2 separate regions of the Homo sapiens genome follow, and region 2 is linked to region 1. The links are contacts of gene promoters, found by promoter capture Hi-C in human tissues and cell types (Jung and others, 2019). All regions are on one chromosome and are shown on one strand. The core of a region is centred on a gene start or on the middle of the fragment in contact, and the rest is flanking DNA. Distances in the headings are between cores, read along the strand shown.

The links. Contacts are between HindIII fragments. The study calls those that stand out against the background at their distance.
Region 2: a contact is called between a fragment that was not itself captured here and the fragment with the promoter of RAMP2 in region 1, in 1 of the 25 tissues and cell types used here (liver).

Annotation. Positions count from the first base shown.
Region 1 is chr17:42,756,626-42,764,234 of GRCh38, reverse strand. RAMP2 (receptor activity modifying protein 2) reads right to left here and starts at 3,008. Exons shown (of 4, transcript NM_005854.3): 1 at 2,877-3,008; 2 at 2,336-2,401; 3 at 1,772-1,880; 4 at 1,194-1,638. The coding sequence starts at 2,973. The coding sequence ends at 1,383. It overlaps RAMP2-AS1 (RAMP2 antisense RNA 1), which reads left to right and starts at 2,978. Exons shown (of 6, transcript NR_024462.1): 1 at 2,978-3,355; 2 at 3,524-3,600; 3 at 3,722-3,809; 4 at 4,355-4,496. RefSeq lists a silencer at 2,805-2,894. The HindIII fragment of the contact is 24,962 bases long and covers 1-7,609 here.
Region 2 is chr17:42,706,730-42,714,338 of GRCh38, reverse strand. It overlaps EZH1 (enhancer of zeste 1 polycomb repressive complex 2 subunit), which reads left to right. Exons shown (of 21, transcript NM_001991.5): 11 at 950-1,130; 12 at 1,854-2,050; 13 at 4,402-4,493; 14 at 5,423-5,463; 15 at 6,256-6,381. It overlaps MIR6780A (microRNA 6780a), which reads left to right and starts at 6,188; the gene lies at 6,188-6,255. It also overlaps the pseudogene RPL34P30. The HindIII fragment of the contact is 8,591 bases long and covers 28-7,609 here.

The DNA of each region.
Region 1 (7,609 bases), core at 1,759-4,258:
CTGTATAAAAAAACTTAAAAAAAAAATTAGGCCGGGTGTGGTGGCTCGTGCCTGTAATCCCAGCACTTTGGGAGGCCGAGGTGGGTGGATCATGAGGTCAGGAGATCGAGATCATCCTGGATAACACAGTGAAACCCTGTCTCTACCAAAAATACAAAAAATTAGCCGGGCGTGGTGGCGAGCACCTGTAGTCCCAACTACTCTGGAGGCTGAGGCAGGAGAATGGCATGAACCAGGAGGCAGAGTTTGCAGTTAGCCGAGAGCATGCCACTGCCCTCCAGCCTGGGTGACGGAGCAAGACTCCATCTCAAAAAAAAAAAAAAAAAAAAAAAATTAGCTGGGCATGGTGGCTCACGCCTGTGGTCCCAGCTACTTGGAAGTCTGAGATGGGAGGATCCTTGAGCCCAGGAGGTCGAGGCTGCAGTGAGCCATGTTTGTGCCACTGAACTCCAGCCTGGGTGACAGAATGAGACCTTGTTTCAACAAACAAACAAACAAACAAACAAACAAGGAACTAGTGATTGCTGTAGAGATGGCAGTTTTCTGACCCCAGGGTCCAGTGCTCCTCAGCCTTGAGCTTCTTCCAGATCAGATACGTCTTCTGGTTGCTGGCTTTAGTGGACACCAGGGGGCAGTGTGTTGCTAGGCTGCAGGCCACACCCAGTCCAGGACAATGTAGGATGAGGGCAAGGGACATGGAGAGGGGTGGTGAACCTAGTAAAGGAAGCCCCCACTGCTTTCTCCCTCAATTGTGAGGGCCTTAGGAATGGATTCCTGTTGCTCAGTCAGGGTTCCTCTTCCCAGGCCCTGTGAGTAAACTGAAGCATGAAGAAGAGGAATAGTCAGGGCTCCTGGGCAGCCTCCTGCTCCTCTTGCAGGAGTCACAAGCAGAGATTCCTCCCTTGCCCCTTCCCCCACACCTCCCCAGTTGCAGGCCCCCAGCTGCTGTCCAGACCGGAAGGGAGTCTCTTCCTGCTTGTTTCCTGGAGCCGAGTTTGGATATAGGCAGGAAAGGCCCGCCTGGGAGGAAAGAATATAGGGGTGTGACCTTCATGGAGGCAGGGAGCAGGGGGGCAGGTGAAATGAACAGAACAATGGGCCATCCAGATTTTTCCAGTTCTACTACCCAGGGCTGAGGGCCTGTGGCAGTGGCAGGGAAGGACACAGGTTCCACTGAAATGGGGAGAAGGACATTGTACAAAAAAAAAGTTTTATTTTGAAGATTACAGAACTTGTGCCATGACCCCACCTGGCTTCCATTCCCAGCAATCCAGGGATCTGTGGTGGGGATGAGAGTGAGAAAAGGGAGTAGGAGGGGAGGAGGGAGGCCTGGTGGGGGTGGGGAAGTGGAGTAACATGGTTGTTGAGAAGCTCGTGGCCCCCTAGGCCTGGGCCTCACTGTCTTTACTCCTCCATACTACAAGAGTGATGAGGAAGGGGATGAGGCAGATGGGGGCTATGATCATGGCCAGGAGTACATCCTCTGGGGGGTCAGAGAAGGTGGGCTGCACCAGGGAGCAGTTGGCAAAGTGGATCTGGTGAGTCTCAAAGATGATCCTCTCTGCCAAGGGATTGGGGAAGCCCAGGTCAAACAACTCTGCAAAGTGCTCCAGGCAATCTCGCAGGGTGCTATAAGGCCTAGGGGCAGAAGAGGACTTGAGTGAGAGAGGGGGTGGACCCAGGGAGAAGAGTGCCCCACTCTCACTCAGGGTCTACCTGCAATGAGCAGGTCCACCCCCTGGCCTGAGCCACCCTCCATCACTGCCCCTACCTGCTAATCATGGCCCAGTCGCACCAATCCTTTTCGATAGGATCCATTTGATCCTTATAATGATTCCAGCAAAATTGGACAGCTGTCTCATAGTTCTTCACCGTCCCCCCTGTAGGTACAGATGCTACACAATGACCACACCCCTACCCCTCCCTACAAACCCTCCTGCCCAGGTGCTTGCAAGGTGAACTGCCTGTCTTCAAACGTGGGAACCCTTCAGAAAGTTTCCCTAGCAAAACATTCTGGCTGAGGACAGAGTCCCAGCTCAGGAATCCTATAATGACTTCCATGTGCTAAGCACTTTCCATCCCAGCCTGATAAGAACTTCCACGTACACCTTTTCCTGGGGTCTTCTCGCCCACTTGTGAGGTGGGCAGCTCAGAGCCGTGCAGGGGCTTTGTAGGAGGACAGGGAGAAAGACCACGAGGAACCCCAAGAAAGAACAGAGGGGAGTGTAGTGGGGCATCAGCTGGGGTTGGGCAGGCCTCGTGGGAAAGGAACCCTCCCCACTGAACTTGCTCTCGTCCTTACCCTCGGCCACCCTTCCACACCCTGGGTACCCACCTTCTGACCCTGGTGTGCCTGTGGTGGGAAGAGGCTGAGCCAGGGCCTCGTGGGGATTCAGGACAGCTGTGGGAAGAAACGGGAGAGGAGGGTAACATAGCGGGGACCCCGGCAGTGGAGCCTGCGAGGGGGGTTGGGGGACTGAGACCCTCCGAAAATAGGCTACCTTGGAAGAAAAGGAGGAATAATCTAGCCCCCACGGACGCCTCAGTGCCGGGGAGGGAGGGGCTGGCACCAGCTCCTTGTCACTCACACCCAGGCCCAAAGCCCCCTCATCTCTGGCCAGCTTCCGTCCTCCTAAGCCCTCTTCGAGGGGCCGGGGCCAGCACCCCAGCTTTCCCTGGGTGGGAAGCAGCTCATGCTGCGCCCGCCCCGAGGTGGGGTCAGGGACCGTCCGAGGGCCAGTGCTGCTAGGTACGTCGGTCCTAACCCGCACCCCAGGGCCCGTTCCGGCCTCGGCCATCCAGCCCCTCTCCCCTCTCCCCTCTCCCCTCCGGGGCCTCTCGCGCCTCCCGCCCGGGCCTCGGGGCGCCGCGCTCACCGCCCAGCAGGAGGAGGAGGCGGAGCGCTGCCGGCCGCCCGACTCGGGTCCTAGGGAGACGCGGGCCGCCGGCGCGCTCCACCCGGAGCGAGGCCATCGTGCAGCAAGGAGGCGAGGAGCGGCGGCGGCGCTGAGCCGGGCCCGGGTGTGGGGGCGCCTATATCCCCAGCCCAAGCTGCAGGAAGCCGCGCCGCTTCCTCGGAGGGGCTGGGACGGCGGCGGCCACGTGGGGGGCGGGGGCGACGCTCGGGGCCCGCGGCTGGAGGGGGAGTCGCTGCCTCACCCGCGCCTGGCGCCCGCGGCTCCCTCCGCCTCGCCGGCGTTGGCCCACCCTCTCGTAGCTCACCCCGCGAGGCTGGACAGCTCCCGGAACCCCGGAACCGGGATCTATTTCGGGGGCTCGGCTGCGTGGCGCCCAGGACTCTCCAGGGTCTCCCAGGATCGCTCCCCGAATTCGAGTCGCCCCCTCTCTCTTTCGGGTCTGGAGGGGTCGGCAAGCTGCTCTCCCAGACGTGGAGAAGAGGGAGGGGGCTGGGAGCTCCAGCGGCCTCTCGACGCCGCTGCTTCTAAGGGGCTGTCCTGGGTTGTGGGGGAAGGGGCGCCTGGAGCTGAGCCATGCAGCTCAGGGTTCCTTATCCTATCCCTAGGAATACCAGCTGATGTCAGTCCGCCAGCCAAAACCAGGGAGGAGAAGCGGGAGCCAGCCCTCTGGAGTCGGGAGAAGGTCTGGGGAGTGGGGTAGAGGGGAAAGCAAAGTCCAAATACCTTCCCTTCAGACACCTCCTGGGGCCTAGACCCCACAAACCTGTTGTGGGGAGGGCAAAATACGATGACTACGTTCCCAGGAAGAAGGTGCCACAGCTCTTCAGGACCACGGTTGGGAGAAAGAATGGAGGGGTTTTAGAACCTTCAGTGTGCGACTTCATGTGCCAGGTGAGTGTAACACCATTTTACAGACCGAGAAGCTAAAGCTCAGGGCCAACAGCCCGGGATTTGAATTCAGAAGCTCTGGGTTCTAATTCTGTCTTCTTACTCCCCAGCTATAGAGCCTTGAATGACACGTTTACCTTCAGGACTTCTCATGTGAAATAGGGACATTCCCCTCCTCACTGTATGATGGCAGCTGTGAAAGGGCACTGCACTCGCTAAATGCTAGTTTCCTTTCCTCTTTTCCTAAGTGACTTATCTAAGGTCACACTGTTAAGGAAGCAGCAAGGCTGAGTCTGGGCCTCCGGGGGTCCTGACTTCAGCCACACCACAGCTGCTTCTTGTGTCCTGGGCCAGAGGTTCATTAGTCTGAAGCAGCTGAGGAGCCCAGGAGCTGGTTTGGCCATGACGTTCAAGTCCCAGACACAGCTGTCAGCACCAAACTTTCCTAAATTACTCCCAGACACTGACCCTTGGACTCAGCTGCTGCTGTTGTCCCAGTTTACTGATTCCTGCCCACCACAAATTATCTGTCCTGATCTCTCCTGAAGTCTTCATCTCAGGATCTCAAGCTCTTGGATCATGGGCACGGATAACCTGTTGTCCTCCTCTATGGTCAAGAGGCTGCTTTTGCAAAGAATCCAGTGGGAGAGAGTCAATGGCCTGCTTGACGTGAACTCCAAAGTCCTCCTGGTAAGGATCATTTCTACAATGATGCAGAAAAGAGCCATGCAGTCTCTGAGACATTTCAGGCTGGGACCAAATCTAGTCCTTCCTGCCTGCCTAGGATTGCTCCTTTCAAGAAGGAAGCATGGGAGATTTCTGAGTGATAAGATGGGAGGAAGGAGCAAGGAGGTGCAGAAAGCAAAACAAGCCATTTTCACTGGGTTGGGGCCAGAAGCACATGAGCCCACTATGGGTTAGGACTGGGGTTGGGGTCAAGATTAAAGGGGACAAAAGCAAATGTTAGATTTAAAATAGAGCCTGGGCAACATAGTGAAACCCTGTCTCTACAAAAAAAAAACTATAAAAAAATTTTTAAAAAATTAGCCTGGCATAGTGGTGTGCACCTGTAGTCCCAGCTACTCGGGAGGCTGAGGCAGGAGGATCACTTGAGCCCCAGAGGTTGAGGCTGCAGAGAGCTGTGATTGTGCCCTATCTCAAAAAAAAAAAAAAAGGACAATATGGCATAATGATAATGGATAATCATAACGGATGAAAGAAAAAAACTGATGAGGATTCTGAAGGTAGGTTCTGCCTCTGTCTTACTGCAAGTAACTTGAGCAGGTTATTTCACATCTCTGGAGCTCAAGATTTTCATATGTAAAATGGCCTTAAGATCAAAAAAGAAAATATAGGTAACTTGGTAGGAAGTTCCTATTTTATTTTTATCTTACTTTACTTTTTAGGAACAGGGGCTCACTCTGTTGCCCACATTGGAGTGCGGTGGAAGAATCATGGCATGCTGCAGTCTTGAGCTTCTAGGCTCAAGAGATCCTCCTGGTTCAGTCTCCCAAGTAGCTAGGACAGCAGGCATATTTTTTGTAGATATGGGGGTCTTGCTTTTTTGCCGAGGCTGGTCTCGAACTCCTGGCTTCAAGCAATCTTCCTGCATCAGTCTCTTAAAGTGTTGGGATTCCAGGCATGAACCACTGCACCTGGCCCTTGGGAAGTTTTATTTTTAGCCTAGGGTTGGGGTTAAGTTTGCATCATGATGTTGAGACCTCCAAAGGAGAACTTATTGTAGTCATTCCTGAGCTCAGGTGTCCAAACTGTCTAATTGGAGAATCTGGGAATTTTCTCTCGTTTTGATTTTCCTCTTCCACTTTTCCATGCCAGTTGGATGTTTGAATGTTTTTATCGACCTCTGAGAGCATCCGGGTAACTGAGGGTTTACTTTGGGGGTCTTTGGAGATGAATAGGGACAGGAGACCTCACCTTTCTTTTCCATGTAGCCATAGGAGATAGTCCCACGATCTGATGATCTGTAGCAATGGGTAGAGGAAGGGCCGTATTAGGAACAGAAGCTAGTTTCGTCATGGGAAGTCCCCTGTTTTCCACTCCTGAGGGCCCTCACATTCCCTTTCTAAGCCCCTTTCTGCTTTTGCTATTAAAAAATACAGTTTTTAAATTGCAAGTAATATGTAAGTATATACTTGTTGCAAAATATTTAACCCAGAAAACTTTGTATCCCCACTCATATCTCATTTCCCACATATTCTGGATTTTTTTAAAGGAAAGCATAAATGGGATTTGATACTCCTATTATTCAGTGACTTTTTTTTTTCTTGAGATGGAGTCTTGCTCTGTTGCCCAGGCTGGAGTGCAGTGGCGCCATCTTGGCTCACTGCAACCTCCGCTTCCCAGGTTCAGGTGATTCTACTGCCTCAGCCTCCTGAGCAGCTGGGATTACATGTGTACGCCGCCACATCCAGCTAATTTTTGTATTTTAGTAGAGACAGGGTTTCACCAGGTTGGCCAGGCTTGTCTTGAACTCCTGACCTCAAGGGATCCACCTGCCTTGGCCTCCCAAAATGCTGGGATTACAGGTGTGAGCCACTGTGCCTGGCCTCAGTGTCTTTTAAAAAATGTGATACTATTGCTGGGTATGCAGCTCATGCCTGTAATCCCAGTTACTCGGGAGCCTGAAGCAGGAACTTGAGCCCAGGAATTGGAGACTAACCTGGGTGATATAGCGAGACTCTGTCTAAAATAATAATAATGATAATAAAGAAGCCAGGCACAGTGCCTCACACCTGTAAACCCAACACTTTGGAAGACCAAGGCAGGAGGATCACTTGAAGTCAGGAGTTCAAGACCAGCCTGGGCAACATGGCAAGACCCTGTCTCTACAAAAAATAAAAATAAATTAGCCAGGCTTGGTGGCACATGCCTGTAGTCCCAGCTCCACAGCAGGCTGAGACAGGAGGATCCCTTGAGCCCAGAATTTTAAGGCTGCAGTGAGCCATGATCATGCCACTGCATTCCAGCATGGGCTACAGAGTGAGACCTTGTCTCCAAATAGAAAAAGAAGAAAGAAAGGAAGGGAAGGGGAAGGGGAAGGGGAAAAAGGAAGGAAAGGAGGGAACACTTAGTAACATGTCTTGGATATCTTTCCATGATACTACATATGTATGTATGCCTCTTTCTTTTTAACTGTACGTAGTATTGCCTTTAGTCTTTTTTTTCCTTATGTCCAGTGAAATCTAGGGGGTTTTCTTTGTTTGTTTTTTATTTATTTATTTTTGAGACAGAGTCTTGCTCTGTTGCCCAGGCTGGAGTGCAGTGGTGTGATCTTAGCTCACTGCAACCTCCGCCTCCCAGGTTCAAGCAATTCTCCTGCCTTAGCCTCCCAGTAGCTGGGATTACAGATGCCCCCTACAAGGCCCAGCTAATTTTTGTATTTTTACTAGAGACAGGGTTTCACCATGTTGGCCAGGCTTGTCTCAAACTCCAGACCTTAAGTGATCTGCCCACCTTGGCCTCCCAAAATTCTGGAATTACAGGTGTGAGCCACCGGGCCTGGCCTGGAAATCTAGTTTGTTTGTTTTTTTGGTTGTTTGTTTGTTTTTGAGATGGAGTTTCGCTCTTGTTGCCCAAGCTGGAGTGCAATGGTGCTATCTCGACTCACTGCAACCTCCGTCTCCTGGGTTCAAGCGATTCTCCTGCCTCAGCCTCCCGAGTAGCTGGGACTACAGGCGCCCACCACCACGCCCAGCTAATTTTTGTATTTTTAGTAGAGACAGGGTTTCACCATGTTGGTCAGGCTGGTCTCGAACTCCTGACCTCAGGTGATCCACCTGCCT
Region 2 (7,609 bases), core at 3,074-5,573, 51 kb after region 1:
ATTGTAGGAAAGCCTACATGTATGTCAAATGCTGGACCATTCTGAGTGCCTCTAGACAATGTCACTGGAAGATAAACCTTTATTTTGTAGAAATAGATTTAGTTTTCAGAAACAGCTAGGAAGTCTTTGAAAACCAAGTCTGATGAGAAAATATTGATGATCTAGGTGAGTGATAATTATTTCATTTTTTAAAAAAGGGGGTGATAGCTGTAAAATAATGAAACAATATTCTTCTGAGTTTCATACACAGATTTGGGAGGAAGTTTCAAAATTAAGTAGTAAGATTGTACAGATTAAGCATTACACATTTTATTAAGGAAACAGAGAAAGTGTGGTAGACTGGAAAGAATAGTGGCCTAGGGAGACAAGGAGCCCTGATTCCTATACCCCTCTGGAACTATTAGCTGCATACTCTCAAGCTAGTTTCTTCCCCTCTCTGAATCTCATTTCTTCATCCATAGGAGAATGTGTTCTCAAATTCCAAACAAGTAACACGCAAGTTAATTTTAGATACAACTCACTGGAAAATTGAAGACACAGATGCATAGATTATATCTTTTTTAAGATTATAGGACATTAGCTGGGCATGGTGACATGTGCGTGTGGTCCTAGCTACTTGGGAGGCTGAGGCAAGGGAATCACTTGAGCCCAGGAATTCGAGGCTGCAGTGAGCAGGCCTCTGCACTCCATCCTGGGCAAGAGAGAGAGACCCTGTCTCAAAAAAACAAACAAACAAAAAAACATTATAGGACAACTCTTTTGTGAAAAAGTACGTAAGTTTTGTTAAGCAGCTCTCATTGTTATATGATCATACTTATTATATGGTACAGAGAAAAAGAAAAGACACTATTATTGTAGACAGATGTTGTAAAGATGAAAGTTTGTGATGATGAGATCAATATGGTGATGGGCCTGTTCCTATTTCCTGTCTGTAATGTGTCCACTGCAGGAAGGAGCAAAGGAGTATGCCATGCTCCACAACCCCCGCTCCAAGTGCTCTGGTCGTCGCCGGAGAAGGCACCACATAGTCAGTGCTTCCTGCTCCAATGCCTCAGCCTCTGCTGTGGCTGAGACTAAAGAAGGAGACAGTGACAGGGACACAGGCAATGACTGGGCCTCCAGTTCTTCAGGTACGATGAACAGAAAATGAAGACTTTTTCTTTCCATGCAAGGACTCTGGTAAACCCAGGATCACTGCCTGACACTTAACTTTACTACCTCTTAAAAATTATAAATTCTTTCTACAAGTTTTGTAAACAGTAAAGATGGGGAATATTTTCTTTTTTTTTTTTTTTTTTTTTGAAACAGTCTCTCGCTTTTTTGCCCAGGCTGGAGTGCAGTGGTGCTATCTTGGCTCACTGCAACCTCCACCTCCCAGGTTCAAGCGATTCTCCTGCCTCAGCCTCCCAAGTAGCTGGGATTACAGGTGCCTGCCACCACGCCCGGCTAATTTTTATATTTTTAGTAGAGACGGGGTTTCGCCATGTTGGCCAGGCTGGTCTTGAACTTCTGACCTCAGGTGATCCGCCTGCCTCGGCGTCCTAAAGTGCTGGGATTACAGGCGTGAGCCACCCTGCCTGGCTAATTTTTGTATTTTTAGTAGAGACAGGGTTTCGCCATGTTGCCCAGGCTGGTCTTGAACTCCTGAGCTCAAGCAATCCACCCACCTCGGCCTCCCAAAATGCAGGGATTACAGGCGTGAGCCACCATGCCTGGCCTAAAGATAGGGAATATTTTCATTCCTAACTGTTCTACCTTTTAAAGTAGAATGAAGTACTTCTGAGTTTGTGACAAACTACTGATGACAACTGCATTCTACCTTCTTCTGATTCTGTTATTTCTTCCCTTCTCAGAGGCTAACTCTCGCTGTCAGACTCCCACAAAACAGAAGGCTAGTCCAGCCCCACCTCAACTCTGCGTAGTGGAAGCACCCTCGGAGCCTGTGGAATGGACTGGGGCTGAAGAATCTCTTTTTCGAGTCTTCCATGGCACCTACTTCAACAACTTCTGTTCAATAGCCAGGCTTCTGGGGACCAAGACGTGCAAGCAGGTACCATCTGGAAGCAGCAGAACAAATGGGCCCCTCCTTTCACGCATTGCTCTGTCCAGCCCTTTGCCATCTTACCAGGCTGTGTGTCTGGGTCTGGAGAGAAGTTGTCTTAAGTTCAGTCCCTGATGAGCCTGTGCTTCTGTGAGTTTCCCAAACATGGCCCTTCTGCAAGTGCCAGGCCTAATGATGTTTGGGGACCCGCCTCCTCCTTGCTGAATGCTCATTTCTGTCTGGACTCTATTTAATGCTTCTGGGTCCTACACTCTTTCGCTTCTTTTTTTTGGCTCTGGCCTCCTTTCTAAATGTGTACCCCTTTCCCAGAAGGGACTCCCAGGTCTTTCTGTGGCTCTTGTTAATGAGCACACTGCTGCTGCTGCTGCAGCTGCTGCAGCTGCTGCTCCCTCCACCACTCCGCCAGCCTCTTCAGTCATTTTATTCTCCACATTTTCTATCACTAGATTATCTTTATTTTGTCTTTGAGACAGGGTTTCACTGTGTCGCCCAGGCTGGAGTGCAGTGGCATGATCATAGCTCACTGCAACCTCCGCCTCCTGGGCTCAAGCAGTCCTCTCCCCTCAGCCAAGCAAGTAGCAAGGGACTACAGGTGCAGGCCAGTATGCCCAGCTAATTTTTTTTTTTTTTTGAGACAGAATCTCGCTCTGTTGCCCAGGCTGGAGTGGTGCAGTGGCATAATCTTGGTTCACTGCAACCTCCGCCTCCCAAGTTCAAGTGATTCTTCTGCCTCATCCTCCCAAGCAACTGGGATTACAGGTGCCCACCACCACACCCAGCTAATTTTTTTTGTTTTGTTTTTTTGAGATGGAGTCTCGGTCTGTTGCCCAGGCTGGAGTGCAGTGGCATGATCTCAGCTCACTGCAGCCTCCGCCTCCCAGGTTCAAGTGATTCTTCTGCCACAGCCTCCCAAGTAGCTGGGATTACAGGTGTGCACCACCACGCCCGGCTAATTTTGTATTTGTAATAGAGACGGGGTTTCACCATGTTGGCCAGGCTGGTCTCAAACTCCTGACCTCAGGTGATCCACCCGCCTCGGCCTCCCAAAGTGCTGGGATTACAGGCATGAGCCAATGTGCCTGGCCATTTTTGTATTTTTTTTTAGTAGAGATGGGGTTTCACCATGTTGGCCAGGCTGGTCTCAAACTCCTGACCTCAAGTGATTGGCCCAGGAAAAGACAGGAAAAGACCACAGTGAGAAGACAGACTGAAGAACAGGGACAAGGAGGCAGCTGTCAGGGCCAGCATGTCCAACAGGAAAGGAACCCCAATGCTTTGGCTTCCTACCTTCTGGAGGAGACTCTGTGGCCTCTTCTTCATGCTTCCTGTACTGAGAACAATTAATAGAACCATGGACTGGGCAAGGTGGCTCACACCTAGAATTCCAGTGCTTTGGGAAGCCATGGTGGGAGGATCGCTTGAAGCCAGGATTTCAGGACCAGTGTGGGCAACAAAGTGAGACCCCATTTCTACAAAAAAAAAAAAAAAAAAAAAGCCACGTACCTGTAGTCCTAGTACTCAGGAGGCTGAGGTGGGAAGATGGCTTGAGCCCAGGAGTTCTATACTACATTGAGCTATGATGGCACCACTGCACTCCAGCCTGGCCAAGAGTATGAGACCCTCTCTCTTAAAAAAAAAAAAAAAAAACAAACAAAAACAGAACCATGAGCTGAAGTGCCCTTTGCTTTCATTTTGGAGCTCATACCTATTTCCCTGATCACAGGTTCTCAACGTAACCATCTATGGATTTGTATGCAAGAATGTTCTTGTCTGTATTTTCCTGAGAATAGTTACAGTTTTCAAAGATCCCCCACAAAGGGCCAATAGCCCCAACAAAGAAAAGGAAAAACTAAAAACCAGTGCTTTAAGAGAAAAAACACATCCTATTGAAATGGCTGAGGCTCCGGTATCTTTATACTGACAGAGGGAGCTAATATTTAGCCCACTGAAACCATTCCTGTCCTGTCCTGTCCTGCCTTACACTCAGTTACACAAGGCACAGCGTTGCCCTTCCTAAAAAGAAGAAGATACTGTTGGTCACAGTCAGCCCACTCTTCTACCCGTGGCTTGGTAGAAAGAGTAGTAGGTGACAGCTTCTGACCAGGGGCGGTATTACTGTGCTCAGTATTTCTCCTTTCCTGAGTCAGGATAAATAATTAGGAATGAACTTCAGAGCCAGTAACCCAATGTTCCAGTGGCACTCTGTCTCTCCCTGACTGATGAGAGGCTTGGTCAGCTGCCTGAGTTTCTCAGAACCCTCCCAAGGCCAGCACCCAGCTGGGCCACTTACCTGACCCCCTTGCTCGAGGAGTGACAGGCCCGTTGGATTTCTCTTCCAGGTCTTTCAGTTTGCAGTCAAAGAATCACTTATCCTGAAGCTGCCAACAGATGAGCTCATGAACCCCTCACAGAAGAAGAAAAGAAAGCACAGGCAAGAAGGGTTGGACAAAGTGTTTTGTTTTACAGCCAGGCTGTTCCCTGTGCTCTGACCTCCCCTTGGAGTTCCCATCTGCCTCCCTCTTTAGCAACCGCACAGGCTGTGTGAGCCCATCAGCTTGGCATCACATGACTGAGAGCCAGCCTCCTGAGTGCTCCCTGAGGGTCTGTGCCTTAGATCAGCCCTCTTCTTGTCCCCCAGTGCTGTGGACCATAACTGTCTGTTTTTCTATTTAAGCTTCTGGCCAATAGGACATGAGCTGGCCTCATGGCTCCACCCTGAAGCCATTTCTCCTTGTTGGTTTTGTTACCACCTTACCCATTTCTCAACTCTGATCAGAGTTTATTTATTTGTTTGGTTTGTGTTGTTTTTCTGAGTTACATGATAGCCTTTACTTAGGTTGGAAGTTTTTAAAAAAATTCTGCACCCTGGCCCTGTTCCCTAGTGACTATCACCTATCAGAGGAAGGAGCTGACACCACTTCTAGATACAGAAGGAAATCCCTGTGGCTCCTCCCTTTCAGTTCTTTCAGAGAAGATTCCTGAAAGGCCTTCCCACCTCCCCATCTTGAAACTCCCCCATATCTCCACCTCCACAAAGACAAAGGGAGAGATTTGGAGAGAAACAATAGCTTTATAATAGACCAATAGGCTTGGGCTTTCTTTTATTTCTGTGTTGTGTTCTTTTATGTTATTTGCTTGTTTGGGAGGGGTTGTGTTTAAGTTTAACTCTTGTAGCACAGGCCAGCTGGATTTAGGATGGACTCTAGCTTCTGTGTACCAAAGTCGTCCTGTTGAGGGGTTTGGGAAGATACTCCCCAGTCATCAAACACAGTCCCTCAGAGCAAGTCACGTTGTCATTTACCTGCATTTGCAGAGCTCCCTAGGGCCGTGACTGAGACCTGTCCTTCCTGTCTTTTTCAGATTGTGGGCTGCACACTGCAGGAAGATTCAGCTGAAGAAAGGTAAGTTCTACCAGGGCATTCTTCAGCAGTTCAGCTGGAGGCCTCACTCTGTGGTCATCACCCTACCCCACCTCCAGCTGCACTTGTTGACCCTGTGCCACTTCCGCAGATTGCAGAATTCTCTGCAGCAACTGAGAACAGCTGAGCCTCTCACTGCAACTGAGAAGACCTCTTAGGAGGTAACATTAAGGGCCTTGTGGTCTGTGATTTTTCTTTTTTTTGAGATGGAGCCTCGCTCTGTCACCCAGGCTGGAGTGCAGTGGCACAATCTTGGCTCACTGCAACCTCCGCCTCCCGGGTTCAAGCAATTCTCCTGCCTCAGCTTCCCAAGTAGCTGGGATTACAGGCATGTACCACCATGCCTGGCTAATTTTTGTATTTTTAGTAGAGACGGGGTTTCACCATGTTGGCCAGGCTGGTCTCGAACTCCTGACCTCAAATGATCCACCTGCCTCGGCCTCGCAAAGTGCTGGGATTACAGGCGTGAGCCACTGTGCCTGGCCAGTATGTGACTTTTCTAGTGTGCCATTTGCTAGGTTCCAGACCTCATTTAATGTTTAGAATAGCTTCCCTGTTGTCCCAGACCATCTCCACACCCTCCCCACAAAGCAGATCACCCCACTGCAGCTTATGAACAACGGTCATCCCTGTCTTCTCACTTCAGGTGCTAAATGTGTGTCCAAGGAGATTGTTAGGACCAGCCTCCTCTGAATCAGGGCAGCTGGACACTTGGGAGGGAAGACAGCTGGAGAGTATGGTCACAGCAGCATCCTCCTCTGTTTTCTTTCCTAGATAACTCTTCCACACAAGTGTACAACTACCAACCCTGCGACCACCCAGACCGCCCCTGTGACAGCACCTGCCCCTGCATCATGACTCAGAATTTCTGTGAGAAGTTCTGCCAGTGCAACCCAGACTGTAAGTGTGCTACGTTTTCTGTATAGTCTACCAAAACAGTTGGCTCCAGTGTGCCCTAGGCTTGCCCCATTCCTGTGCCCTTTACTGCTTATGGCCTTCTGATATCCCCTTTGCTGTGTTTTAGGGATTCTACAAATGAAATAAGTGCATGAGATCTGGGAGAGTCGTTTCTGGAAAACGTTTAGGTTCATGATTCTAAAAGCAGCAATTACACAGAAATCAGATACTTTCCCAACTTTGTCTTCTAGGGGAGAATTAAGAAATGTGGGGGGCAGCAGGCGCAGTCACTCACGCCTGTAATCCCAGCACTTTGGGTAGGCGGATCACTTGAGGTCAGGAGTTCAAGACCAGCGTGGCCAACTTGGCGAAACCTCATCTCTACTAAAAATAAAAAAATTAGGCCAGGTGTGGTGGCTCACGCCTATAATCCCAGCACTTGGAAGGCCAAGTCGGGCAGATCACTTAAGGTCAGGACTCAAGACCAGCCTGGCCAACATGGTGAACCCCGTCTCTACTAAGAATACAAAAATTAGCCAGACATGGTGGTACATGCTTGTAGTCCCAGCTACTTGGGAGGCTGAGGCACAAGAACTGCTTGAACCCAGAGGGCAGAGGCTGCCAGTGAGCCAAGATTGTGCCACTGCACTCCAGCCTGGGCAACAGAGCAAGACTCTGTCTCAAAAAGAAAAGAAATGTGGGACTCTTTTTTTTTTTTTTAAGTTACAGCCCCAGTTTCCCTTTTCTGAATACTGTTTTAAAAAATTTTTTATTCAGATATTTTTTGTTTGTGATTCTGTGTATGTCTATTTTCATTTCATAGCTGGAGTTTTAATATCAGGTAGAAGACAGGGGCCTGGATGTCAGCAGAGACATCCGGGTACTTATCTTTTACTTCTTATCCCACCATGCCCTTCCCAACTCAAAGCTGAGCAGTTTGATGGCAGTCCCCACAGCTTGCAGAACTTGGTGCCCAGGCGGTTTTGCTGGAGGAAATACCTCCTAACCCATAGCAGATAGTGATCTTAGCCGCAGCAGAGAAGTGGTTGCGCTGGGTTGGGCAGTGGGTGGAGAAGGATGGCATAGAACGGATGCATTCTGTTCTCAAAATGATACTTGTTTTGATGGTGACAATTTACCAGTGAAACACACTGATTTCATATTCTCTGGGGTACTCTCCACCTCAGTGGGAGGGAGAGGATTGTTGGGGAATCTCTAGGGGACACTTCTT